4 separate regions of the Homo sapiens genome follow, and regions 2, 3 and 4 are each linked to region 1. The links are contacts of gene promoters, found by promoter capture Hi-C in blood cells and fetal thymus (Javierre and others, 2016). All regions are on one chromosome and are shown on one strand. Each heading gives the region's core, a stretch centred on a gene start or on the middle of the fragment in contact. The rest is flanking DNA. Distances are from core to core; before and after follow the strand shown.

What was found. Contacts are between HindIII fragments. The CHiCAGO score rates a contact against its expected background, and 5 or more counts as called.
Region 2: a contact is called between the fragment with the promoter of PLXNB3 here and the fragment with the promoter of G6PD in region 1, in 1 of 17 cell types (total CD8 T cells). The highest score is 9.6, in total CD8 T cells.
Region 3: a fragment that was not itself captured here is called in contact with the fragment with the promoter of G6PD in region 1 in 5 of 17 cell types (total B cells, total CD8 T cells, non-activated CD4 T cells and 2 more); the score reaches 10.1 in total B cells.
Region 4: a fragment that was not itself captured here is called in contact with the fragment with the promoter of G6PD in region 1 in 5 of 17 cell types (naive CD8 T cells, total CD4 T cells, activated CD4 T cells and 2 more); the score reaches 7.6 in naive CD8 T cells.

What each region holds. Positions count from the first base shown.
Region 1 is chrX:154,545,529-154,548,095 of GRCh38, reverse strand. G6PD (glucose-6-phosphate dehydrogenase) reads left to right here and starts at 1,250. Exons shown (of 13, transcript NM_001360016.2): 1 at 1,250-1,307; 2 at 1,933-2,060. The coding sequence starts at 1,941. IKBKG (inhibitor of nuclear factor kappa B kinase regulatory subunit gamma) reads right to left here and starts at 476. Exons shown (of 10, transcript NM_001099857.5): 1 at 351-476. RefSeq lists enhancers at 89-368, 1,671-2,214 and a silencer at 809-1,368. The HindIII fragment of the contact is 7,888 bases long and covers 1-2,567 here.
Region 2 is chrX:153,762,956-153,765,522 of GRCh38, reverse strand. It overlaps PLXNB3 (plexin B3), which reads right to left and starts at 1,274. Exons shown (of 36, transcript NM_005393.3): 1 at 1,219-1,274; 2 at 1-52. PLXNB3-AS1 (PLXNB3 antisense RNA 1) reads left to right here. Exons shown (of 3, transcript NR_199696.1): 2 at 1,674-1,813. The HindIII fragment of the contact is 7,823 bases long and covers 1-2,230 here.
Region 3 is chrX:153,922,018-153,924,584 of GRCh38, reverse strand. The region is part of intron 1 of ARHGAP4 (Rho GTPase activating protein 4); the gene reads left to right. Among named protein-coding and RNA genes, the nearest start is that of ARHGAP4, 3.0 kb to the left of the region's middle. RefSeq lists enhancers at 25-154, 661-1,161. The HindIII fragment of the contact is 3,334 bases long and covers 1-2,567 here.
Region 4 is chrX:154,029,953-154,032,519 of GRCh38, reverse strand. MECP2 (methyl-CpG binding protein 2) reads left to right here. Exons shown (of 3, transcript NM_001110792.2): 2 at 1-313; 3 at 1,070-2,567. The coding sequence ends at 2,153. Among named protein-coding and RNA genes, the nearest start is that of MIR718, 11 kb to the right of the region's middle. RefSeq lists an enhancer at 1-82. The HindIII fragment of the contact is 1,982 bases long and covers 260-2,241 here.

The DNA.
Region 1 (2,567 bases), core at 1-2,500:
AGATACCTAGCTGCCAAACTATATGTGAGGCATTTCCGAAGAATTTAACGACCTCGATAGAGCGCAGTCAAGTTTGGTGAACAGAATATGTCTCTGAACTAGAGGAGTCCTCACACAAGGAGTAGGGTCAGACCCCGCAGTGGAGGAGGAGGGAGGAGTAGAAACAGTCCAGCTCGCCGCCCAAGTAACCTGGGTCCTGAATCGGCCCGCCTTGGCCAGTGCTCCAGAAGCGCGGAGCAGGAACGGGCTGGGGCCCAAAAAAGAGGGGGGAGCCTGAACGTCCGGGGGAAGTTTCGGAGGCGGCGGAACGCCCACGGATGGAACCCTGTCTTTGGGGAAAAGGACCACACCTGTCAGCAGAGTCCGTCAGACGTGAGAAGGGTGGGAGCGGCGGACTGTGAACGCTGGTAGGGCCCCGGCGCTCCGAGAAAGTCCCAGTTTCGCGGTCGCCCTTCCCTACCACGCTTCCGGCTTCCGGTGTCATAGCTGTGGGATCCGGAAGTAAAAACACAAGCCCCGCCCCCGAGAACTCGGGAAGCCGGCGAGAAGTGTGAGGCCGCGGTAGGGCCGCATCCCGCTCCGGAGAGAAGTCTGAGTCCGCCAGGCTCTGCAGGCCCGCGGAAGCTCGGTAATGATAAGCACGCCGGCCACTTTGCAGGGCGTCACCGCCTACACGCCCCCTCGTCTCTCGGACGGCGGCGTCTAGCCTCGGGGCGCTCGGCCGCCCCGCCCTCTCCGGGGGAGGAATCAAGAAGAGACTGCCCAATAGGGCCGGCTTGACCCGCGAACAGGCGAGGGTTCCCGGGGGAGTGGCGCGGCAGAAGGCCCCGCCCAGGAGCCGAGGGACAGCCCAGAGGAGGCGTGGCCACGCTGCCGGCGGAAGTGGAGCCCTCCGCGAGCGCGCGAGGCCGCCGGGGCAGGCGGGGAAACCGGACAGTAGGGGCGGGGCCGGGCCGGCGATGGGGATGCGGGAGCACTACGCGGAGCTGCACCCGTGCCCGCCGGAATTGGGGATGCAGAGCAGCGGCAGCGGGTATGGCAGGCAGCCGGCGGGCCGGCCTCCAGCGCAGGTGCCCGAGAGGCAGGGGCTGGCCTGGGATGCGCGCGCACCTGCCCTCGCCCCGCCCCGCCCGCACGAGGGGTGGTGGCCGAGGCCCCGCCCCGCACGCCTCGCCTGAGGCGGGTCCGCTCAGCCCAGGCGCCCGCCCCCGCCCCCGCCGATTAAATGGGCCGGCGGGGCTCAGCCCCCGGAAACGGTCGTACACTTCGGGGCTGCGAGCGCGGAGGGCGACGACGACGAAGCGCAGGTAACCGGCCGGGCGGGCGCCGCGCAGGCGGAGGAGCGTACTGTCCCGCGCTGCGCCGCGCGGCGGTAAAATACACGCTGTTTGTTGTGCTTGAGAACCGAGCAGAATCGAGAGGGTCTTAACCAATCCCTTTATACCCCGCACCTCCTCTCTTGAGCCCCTGAGACCCCGAGAGCGAAGGGGACTTGCCGACCGGGGTCACCCAGCTTGGCAAGGGGAGGGCTGGAGCTGAACTCCAGCATCTGCACCATCTCCCATGCTCCAGGTCATTGTGGAGTTCCCGCTACAGTCGGGAATGAGATGGTCCTGGGCACGCAGTTCCATGCCCCACAAGGATTTTACTCGGTTGTCCAGAATTGATGCTGTAGTCGGAATACACCAATGCTTTGAGTAATTTTGTAATGTACACCCTGAATGAAGGCTGCCTAGGAGAGAGTGGCTGGAGCCCAGAGCCAGCAGTTTCTAACCCATCAACCACTCCCCAATGCCCAGCCGTTCACAAGGAGTGATTTGGGCAATCAGGTGTCACCCTGGTGTGAGACCCCAGAGGAACTCTCAAGAAAGGGGCTAACTTCTCAATGCTCTCCTGTTCTTCTGCCTTGTTAACGAGCCTTTCTTCCACCAGACAGCGTCATGGCAGAGCAGGTGGCCCTGAGCCGGACCCAGGTGTGCGGGATCCTGCGGGAAGAGCTTTTCCAGGGCGATGCCTTCCATCAGTCGGATACACACATATTCATCATCATGGGTGCATCGGTGAGTATCTCCCAGGCCCCAATCTTAAAAGCCAGGAAGTGCCTGCTCCATGCCTCAGCTTTTCCAACTAATTGTTGCAGGGCCCCACAGGCTCTGCTAAGTTGAGCTCCTCCTCCCGCTCCTGCTAGTGCGCCAGGATCATCCCGGCTCTACCTGGTGTGCATATGCACTTGCAAGACTTTTTTTTTTTTTTTTTTTTGGAGACGGAGTTTTGCTCTGGTCGCCCAGGATGGGGTGCAGTGGCGCCATCTTGGCTCACTGCAACCTCGGCCTCCTGGGTTCAAGCGATTCTCCTGCCTCAGCCCCCCAAGTAGCTGAGATTACAGGCATGCACCACCACACCCGGCTAATTTTTGTATTGTTAGTAGAGACGGAGTTTCACCATGTTGACCAGGCTGGTCTCAAACTCCTGACCTCAAGTGATCCGCCCGCCTCGGCCTCCCAAAGTGCTGGGATGACAGGCATGAGCCACCACGCCCGGCTGCAGGACGTTTCTGAACCCTGTGC
Region 2 (2,567 bases), core at 25-2,524, 780 kb after region 1:
CTGCCCCAGGGCAGTGGCGATGGGCATGAGATGGCTGCGGGGGGGCATTGTCCTGAGTGGGAGGGAGACAGTCGAGGCTCAGCCCCATTCGAGCTGGCCTGGGGAAGGAGGGGCGGCGGTGGGGGTGGCGCCCAGGGCCTAGCGACCGGGCTCCCTCACAGCTGGCAGCTTTGTCAATAGTGGCCAGGCCAAGGCAGCCCTGCCTCCACCACAACAATGTTCCCTCTGTCCAGAGGCCAGGCCAGGGCCCCACTCGCTAGTGCTGTCACCCCCACTGGGCTGTTCTGGACAGGGGGCTCCTTGCCACTTCCCACCCTCAGGGAGCCACCCCCGGGATCCGGGGACAAAGGGCCGGGGTTTCCTCCAGCCAGCCCTCCCCCTCTGGCCCTGCAACCCCTGTGTCACTAAGCATGCCCCTCCCTGGCTCCCCGGGTCCCTGTGAAGGGCACGGGGTGGACCTTGGAGCCCCTGCAAATGCCGGCTGGTAGCCTTGGGGCCTGGGTGAAGTGCCAGTCCTGGCCCTCAATGCCTGCCTTTGTCCAAAAGATCTTCCTCCACACCCCCAGCCCAGCCCTGCCCCTGGGGACTGGTGAAGTGGTGCCAGGTACAGCATGGTGGCAGCGAGCAGGACCACGGGAGGAGGCTGCTTGAGATGGGCTGAGGCAGAGGGTCCACAGGCCGGGGCTGTCCACCCCACCCTCTGAAGCACCGTCCTGCTGGCCTAGATGCCATCCATGCAGGGGATGGGGAAGGGAGGGGCACCTAGCAGCTAGACCCCCTGTCACCCTCACAGGCCACCCTGGCCAGTGGCACAGGAGCAGGTGCACTGGGGATGGGGTCTCTGCCTCCCCCACAGCACGGCAGCAGTAGGCTCCAGGGCAAGGTGGCAGTGGGCTGCTGTCACCTGGCTGGGCCAGTTGGGTGGCTGTGGGGGTGGGGAGCCAGGCGGGCAGCCTCTCTACCCTGTACCCTGCCCGAGGCTGGCGTTGGCTTTCCCATTTCGGGGAAGAAACATGGTTCCCCACCTCCTAACCCCAGGGCTACCACTTGGGGGACACCGTGCTCCCAGACACCTAGTGCCGTCGTCAGGCTGGGCCGACACCCGAGCGCTCTTGCCTGACCCCAGCCAGTTGGCCCTGAGACCCTGATGCCTTGCCCTGAGGCTGGTAGCCCCTGCACCCCAAGCCCAAGCCCAAGCCTGCCCCAGCTCTTGCCTACCTGGTGGGCCACCGGCGAGGGCCAAGTAGCAGCTGGCGGTGCCAGGAGCACGTCTCACAGAGCCCCAGCCTCCCTCCCCACAATGCAATCGTGCCCAGTCCGACTCATCCCAACAAGCCCGGCCAGGCAGCCCAGCCTCTCTCCGCCCGCCCCTTTGCCCAATGGCACAGGGCAGGATGTTGCTGCCCTCTGCTGGCCGCAGCGGGCATGATGGAGTACTGACCGTGGGCACCTGGCAGGTGAGAGACGGCAGCGCCCTCCTATTGGGTGGGCATTCCATAACCTGGCACGAAGCACCTACTGGATGCCAGGCTTGGGCTTGGCACTGGCACCATCCAGAAACAAACACAGGTTGGGAAACTGAGGCACAGGAGGTTAGGAAACTTGAATAAAGTCACACAGCTAGTATGTGGCAAGGCTGAGTCAATCACAGGGCCCCTTCACTTAACCGTCAGGCTACATGACCTTGAACCATGAACCTTGGCAGGCGTTGGGCAGGAGATGGAGCTGAGGCCTACCCCAGGCCAGGCCTGGACGTGACATGCCCACGTGGCGTTGAGGAAAAACCAGTGTTTCCCACCGACTGGAACACAAGGTTGGTCAAGGGCCGTCTCCCAGGGTGTGGCGGAGGTCAGCAAATCAGGTGGGGTCTTTGTGGCCAGGCTTGAGAACTTGAACTTGTCTCGCCATGGGCAACTGCAAGCTGGTGGCACTGGGGCAGAGAATGTGGGGAGGCCTGGTCCAGTGGTGGTCATGGGCATGGAGAGAGGCGGGCGCGTTCTAGAGGCGCTCTGGGGAGGCAGCATTCTGAAGACTGTGCGTTGGACCCAGGGCAGGAGGCGAAGGCAGGAGAATCCAGGCGACCCTGGGGCTTTTCTGCTGGGGCACTGTTCCCCCTGTGGCAGGGCCATCCACAGAGGGGCTGGCGGAAGTGGGAGGACGGTAAGACTGAGGGGCCCATGAGGGAGGAGGAAATGGTGATGGGGCTGGGGAGGCCTGGGGGTGAGAAGCTTGGCTCAGGTGGCTGGAGCCCTGGGGGCGGCCAGGGTATAGGGCCAGGTGTTGGCCCTGGAGCTCAAAGGCCCAGCAGACTCGGGGTATGGGTGCTTCCCTGAGCAGCTGTGTCATTCTTTCCAACCTGCATGGAGAGAAATGGGGCACAGAGGTGGGTAACTTGCCCAGGGCCATGACCTGACGTCGTTTCTTCAGAGTGCATTCCACAGAGATGGGATTTGAACCTGGGCATTCTGGCACGGGCCACGCTCTGGACCACTGGGCCCCAGATCCACAGCTTCTCACCTGCAGCCGCTGAGGATGTGGAGGCAGACCAGGCAGGCCCGTGGGAAGGA
Region 3 (2,567 bases), core at 60-2,559, 620 kb after region 1:
TGGCCACCCCGCCCTCACATGGCTCACGGGTCTAGTGGGGGAGACATAGACTTTGCATTATGATAATAAGCACTACAAAGGGAAGGAAAGTGCACGGTGCCAAGAAGGGGTCGGAAGAGGGCCAGCCCTAGTTTAGGGGGAGGTCAGGACAGGGTGTGCTGACGAGTTTGTCTGAACTGAGATCCGAAAGCTCTGCCAGGAAAGCCACCAATGCAATCGACTTGCAATTCACAAGTTGCCTGCTCAACACCAGCCGGTGTGCATGCCCGGATCTGGACTAGGACATGGCTTCCAGTCAGCTTTTGCTGCCGGCAGTGATGAAGAAAGGCAGCGGTTCCCTCTGCTGGTTCCTTCTGCACTGTTCAGTTGTCATAAGTCCCCAGGGATTGTATTCCTCTGGGGGAAGCAGGGCAGGGCAGGCTCCAGAGGGCCAGTGAGGCGAGCAGTTGTCTAACACCTTTCTTGGAATGAAATGAAATTTACTTTTATCAAAAAATGTTAAACTGGGCCAGGCGTGGTGGCTCACGTCTGTAATCCCAGCACTTTGGGAGGCCGAGGCGGGCGGATCACCTGAGGTCAGGAGTTCAAGACCCAGTCTGGCCAACATGATGAAACCCTGTCTCTACTAAAAATACAAAAATTAGCTGGGTGTGGTGGTGCGCCCCTGTAGTCCCAGCTACTCGGGAGGCTGAGGCGGGAGAATCGCTTGAACCCGGGAGGCGGAGGTTGCAGTGAGCCGAGATCGCACCACTGTACTCCAGCCTGGGCAACATCCTCCGTCTCAAAACAAAAAATCAAAACAAAACGTTAAACTGATTCAGTGAGGACTCTCCTGATTTCAAATGGCATTAGCGCCCACCCCACCTGGCCTTGGAGCTGACGAGTTAACCACAGGAGGCCAGCCTCGGATAGGATGAAGACACTCTCCATCTGTCTCACTTGGCATCGTGGGCTCTGCCCTGCTCTGTCGGGAGGTCCCGTGCCCCAGGCTTCCACTTACCCAGCTTGATCTGCCGGTGGGAAGAGCTCTCCTGTTCAGTAATTCAATTGGAAGGGTCAGGCTCCTGGGTCCCTCACCTGGCTAGTCTGGTGGGGGCAGGGAGTGGAGGGACAGAGGGATGGGTGACGCATGCAGCCAGGGCTGGGGCACCTGGAGTCAAGGGGGCTGAGACTAGGAAGGGGACATTCTCCAATAGGAGATCAGGGGAGGAGGTAGGGATGCTGGGCAGGCGGAACCCACAGGGTCCCCATGCAACAGCCCCTGGGAAGTCACTGGCGGGACAGAAATCCAATGGGATTGAGCTCTTCTCAGCGGAGTCCTCCCTCGCTGCTGCTGGTCTGAATCCTGCCGTCTTTTGCCTGGACTAGCACAGTAGCTGCCACCTGGGCTCCACCTGGCAGTGTGAGGGGGCCCTGAAAACGAAGCTGGACCACATCACCCCACTACTGTGGCTCCTCTCTCACTCGGAGTCCAGCTGGGAGCTCTGCCCAGACCCCGGGCTCTGTGCCATCTGTCCCTACCGGTCTCTCGGACTCCCCCTACTGCCCACGTACAGCCAGCTCCAGCCTTCTGCTCCAACGATGCGGCTTGTTCTTGACCACCCTCCTTTAAAAAGAGGTCCTCCCTGTCCCCACCCACCCCTGGCTCTGATCTTGCTTTGTGGGTTCATCTTCTCCGCACCCATCACTCCTGGGCATTCTGATATGTGTTCGTGCCCCATTCCAATCCCAGCTCCAAGAGGGCAGACACTTGGTCAAACCTCTTTGCCTTTGTATTTAAAACGTGCCTGCCACAGAATGGGTGCATAATCAACATTCTGCTGAATGAAGACATCAATTCATGTCCCTCCCTGGGGATGTGGATGGAGATGAGTAGGTGGGCAGCCTGCTGGCCAGAAGCTGAGCTAGCATCTTATTTACTCGGGACGGGCACTCAGGAGATGGCAAAAGTGTCTTCCGCAGGTTGCTTAAACTTGCTGGACAGGCACTTCTTTGCTTCAGGCCTGTGTGGGGGAAGCAGCGTTGCCAAATCAAGCCAGTGATAGGGTGTCAAAAGGCCGGCAGTATGGGGCCCTGGGTGTGACTCTCTCTGCAGGGTGGGGGAATGCACAGGTGGGGCGGGGGGTGATTGGGAGTGGGAAGTGGGGTCAGAAGACGGGGGCTAGCTCCCTGCCCCATTCTTTCACTTACAAGGCCGGATCAGCTCTCCCTGGCTCCCAGCCCTCACTGTGGACTGTCCTTTCCCCTGGGGCCTGAGGGCAGGCTTCCCCAGCCACTGAGACTGCGAGATCGCTGCAGGCTTGCCCTGAGCAGCACTGTGATCTGTGTGTTGTGTATCCGTGTGTTTGCAAGGGAGGCTGCCACCTCCCGGAGCCTGGGTACCGGCGGGAAAGGAAGTCGCAGGGGAAACCATTCAGAGGCTTTCCAGGAACGAGGGAGAGACAGGAAGCCAAACTGAAAGGTGCCTGGCTGGCGCTGGGGCGGCTCTCCCCTCTCTCTGGGACACCCTTCCCCTTCCCCCTCAACCGGGTGGCTCTGGCCATCTGTTGGCCTCAGCGCAGAGGTCG
Region 4 (2,567 bases), core at 1-2,500, 520 kb after region 1:
AGGACAAACCCCTCAAGTTTAAAAAGGTGAAGAAAGATAAGAAAGAAGAGAAAGAGGGCAAGCATGAGCCCGTGCAGCCATCAGCCCACCACTCTGCTGAGCCCGCAGAGGCAGGCAAAGCAGAGACATCAGAAGGGTCAGGCTCCGCCCCGGCTGTGCCGGAAGCTTCTGCCTCCCCCAAACAGCGGCGCTCCATCATCCGTGACCGGGGACCCATGTATGATGACCCCACCCTGCCTGAAGGCTGGACACGGAAGCTTAAGCAAAGGAAATCTGGCCGCTCTGCTGGGAAGTATGATGTGTATTTGATCAAGTAAGTAAGAGCAACTCCTATCTCTACAGGGCAGGGAGGGCAGGGACAAGGATCCCTCATGGAGCAGGAAAATGTATGTGCCCAGGGTGGGGTCGGGGGGAACATAAACAATGAACACTGAGACCAGGTGTGCTTGAAATGACCGTGTACAGAGGTCGCTGCCCTGAGTGGGAAGTTCTCAAGGTAGCAGGCCCTCTATCCTCTCCACACCTCAAGTCTTTATCTGGGGATGGAATAGCTGCGGAAGCAGAGGAACTTGCAGAGCTAGGGGTTCAGAGGGGTGAAGAAGCATGTTTCAGTTCTGCCTTTTAAATGATCCCAAAAAGGTTAGCAGTTTTCAAATGACATTTGCAGACAGCCTCATTTAATTCCATGAGAAGGGTGAGCAAAGGATTATCTTGTTGAAACTGATTCCTGGAGAGACTGAGCACCGTACCTGAGTTCAAACTTGGGAATGTTCTAGATGGTGACTCAGGCCCAGGCACCAACCAGCAGAATGGGCCTCAGCCTGACAACCCTTCTGTACCAGGCCTGACTCTTTGGTTGCTGAACTTTGGAGAGGCCTGGGGGGGTCAGCGGCAGGCAGACGAGTGAGTGGCTTTGGTGACAGGTCCTCAGGGGCAGCCAGGCAGTGTGACTCTCGTTCAATAGTAACGTTTGTCAGAGCGTTGTCACCACCATCCGCTCTGCCCTATCTCTGACATTGCTATGGAGAGCCTCTAATTGTTCCTTGTGTCTTTCTGTTTGTCCCCACAGTCCCCAGGGAAAAGCCTTTCGCTCTAAAGTGGAGTTGATTGCGTACTTCGAAAAGGTAGGCGACACATCCCTGGACCCTAATGATTTTGACTTCACGGTAACTGGGAGAGGGAGCCCCTCCCGGCGAGAGCAGAAACCACCTAAGAAGCCCAAATCTCCCAAAGCTCCAGGAACTGGCAGAGGCCGGGGACGCCCCAAAGGGAGCGGCACCACGAGACCCAAGGCGGCCACGTCAGAGGGTGTGCAGGTGAAAAGGGTCCTGGAGAAAAGTCCTGGGAAGCTCCTTGTCAAGATGCCTTTTCAAACTTCGCCAGGGGGCAAGGCTGAGGGGGGTGGGGCCACCACATCCACCCAGGTCATGGTGATCAAACGCCCCGGCAGGAAGCGAAAAGCTGAGGCCGACCCTCAGGCCATTCCCAAGAAACGGGGCCGAAAGCCGGGGAGTGTGGTGGCAGCCGCTGCCGCCGAGGCCAAAAAGAAAGCCGTGAAGGAGTCTTCTATCCGATCTGTGCAGGAGACCGTACTCCCCATCAAGAAGCGCAAGACCCGGGAGACGGTCAGCATCGAGGTCAAGGAAGTGGTGAAGCCCCTGCTGGTGTCCACCCTCGGTGAGAAGAGCGGGAAAGGACTGAAGACCTGTAAGAGCCCTGGGCGGAAAAGCAAGGAGAGCAGCCCCAAGGGGCGCAGCAGCAGCGCCTCCTCACCCCCCAAGAAGGAGCACCACCACCATCACCACCACTCAGAGTCCCCAAAGGCCCCCGTGCCACTGCTCCCACCCCTGCCCCCACCTCCACCTGAGCCCGAGAGCTCCGAGGACCCCACCAGCCCCCCTGAGCCCCAGGACTTGAGCAGCAGCGTCTGCAAAGAGGAGAAGATGCCCAGAGGAGGCTCACTGGAGAGCGACGGCTGCCCCAAGGAGCCAGCTAAGACTCAGCCCGCGGTTGCCACCGCCGCCACGGCCGCAGAAAAGTACAAACACCGAGGGGAGGGAGAGCGCAAAGACATTGTTTCATCCTCCATGCCAAGGCCAAACAGAGAGGAGCCTGTGGACAGCCGGACGCCCGTGACCGAGAGAGTTAGCTGACTTTACACGGAGCGGATTGCAAAGCAAACCAACAAGAATAAAGGCAGCTGTTGTCTCTTCTCCTTATGGGTAGGGCTCTGACAAAGCTTCCCGATTAACTGAAATAAAAAATATTTTTTTTTCTTTCAGTAAACTTAGAGTTTCGTGGCTTCAGGGTGGGAGTAGTTGGAGCATTGGGGATGTTTTTCTTACCGACAAGCACAGTCAGGTTGAAGACCTAACCAGGGCCAGAAGTAGCTTTGCACTTTTCTAAACTAGGCTCCTTCAACAAGGCTTGCTGCAGATACTACTGACCAGACAAGCTGTTGACCAGGCACCTCCCCTCCCGCCCAAACCTTTCCCCCATGTGGTCGTTAGAGACAGAGCGACAGAGCAGTTGAGAGGACACTCCCGTTTTCGGTGCCATCAGTGCCC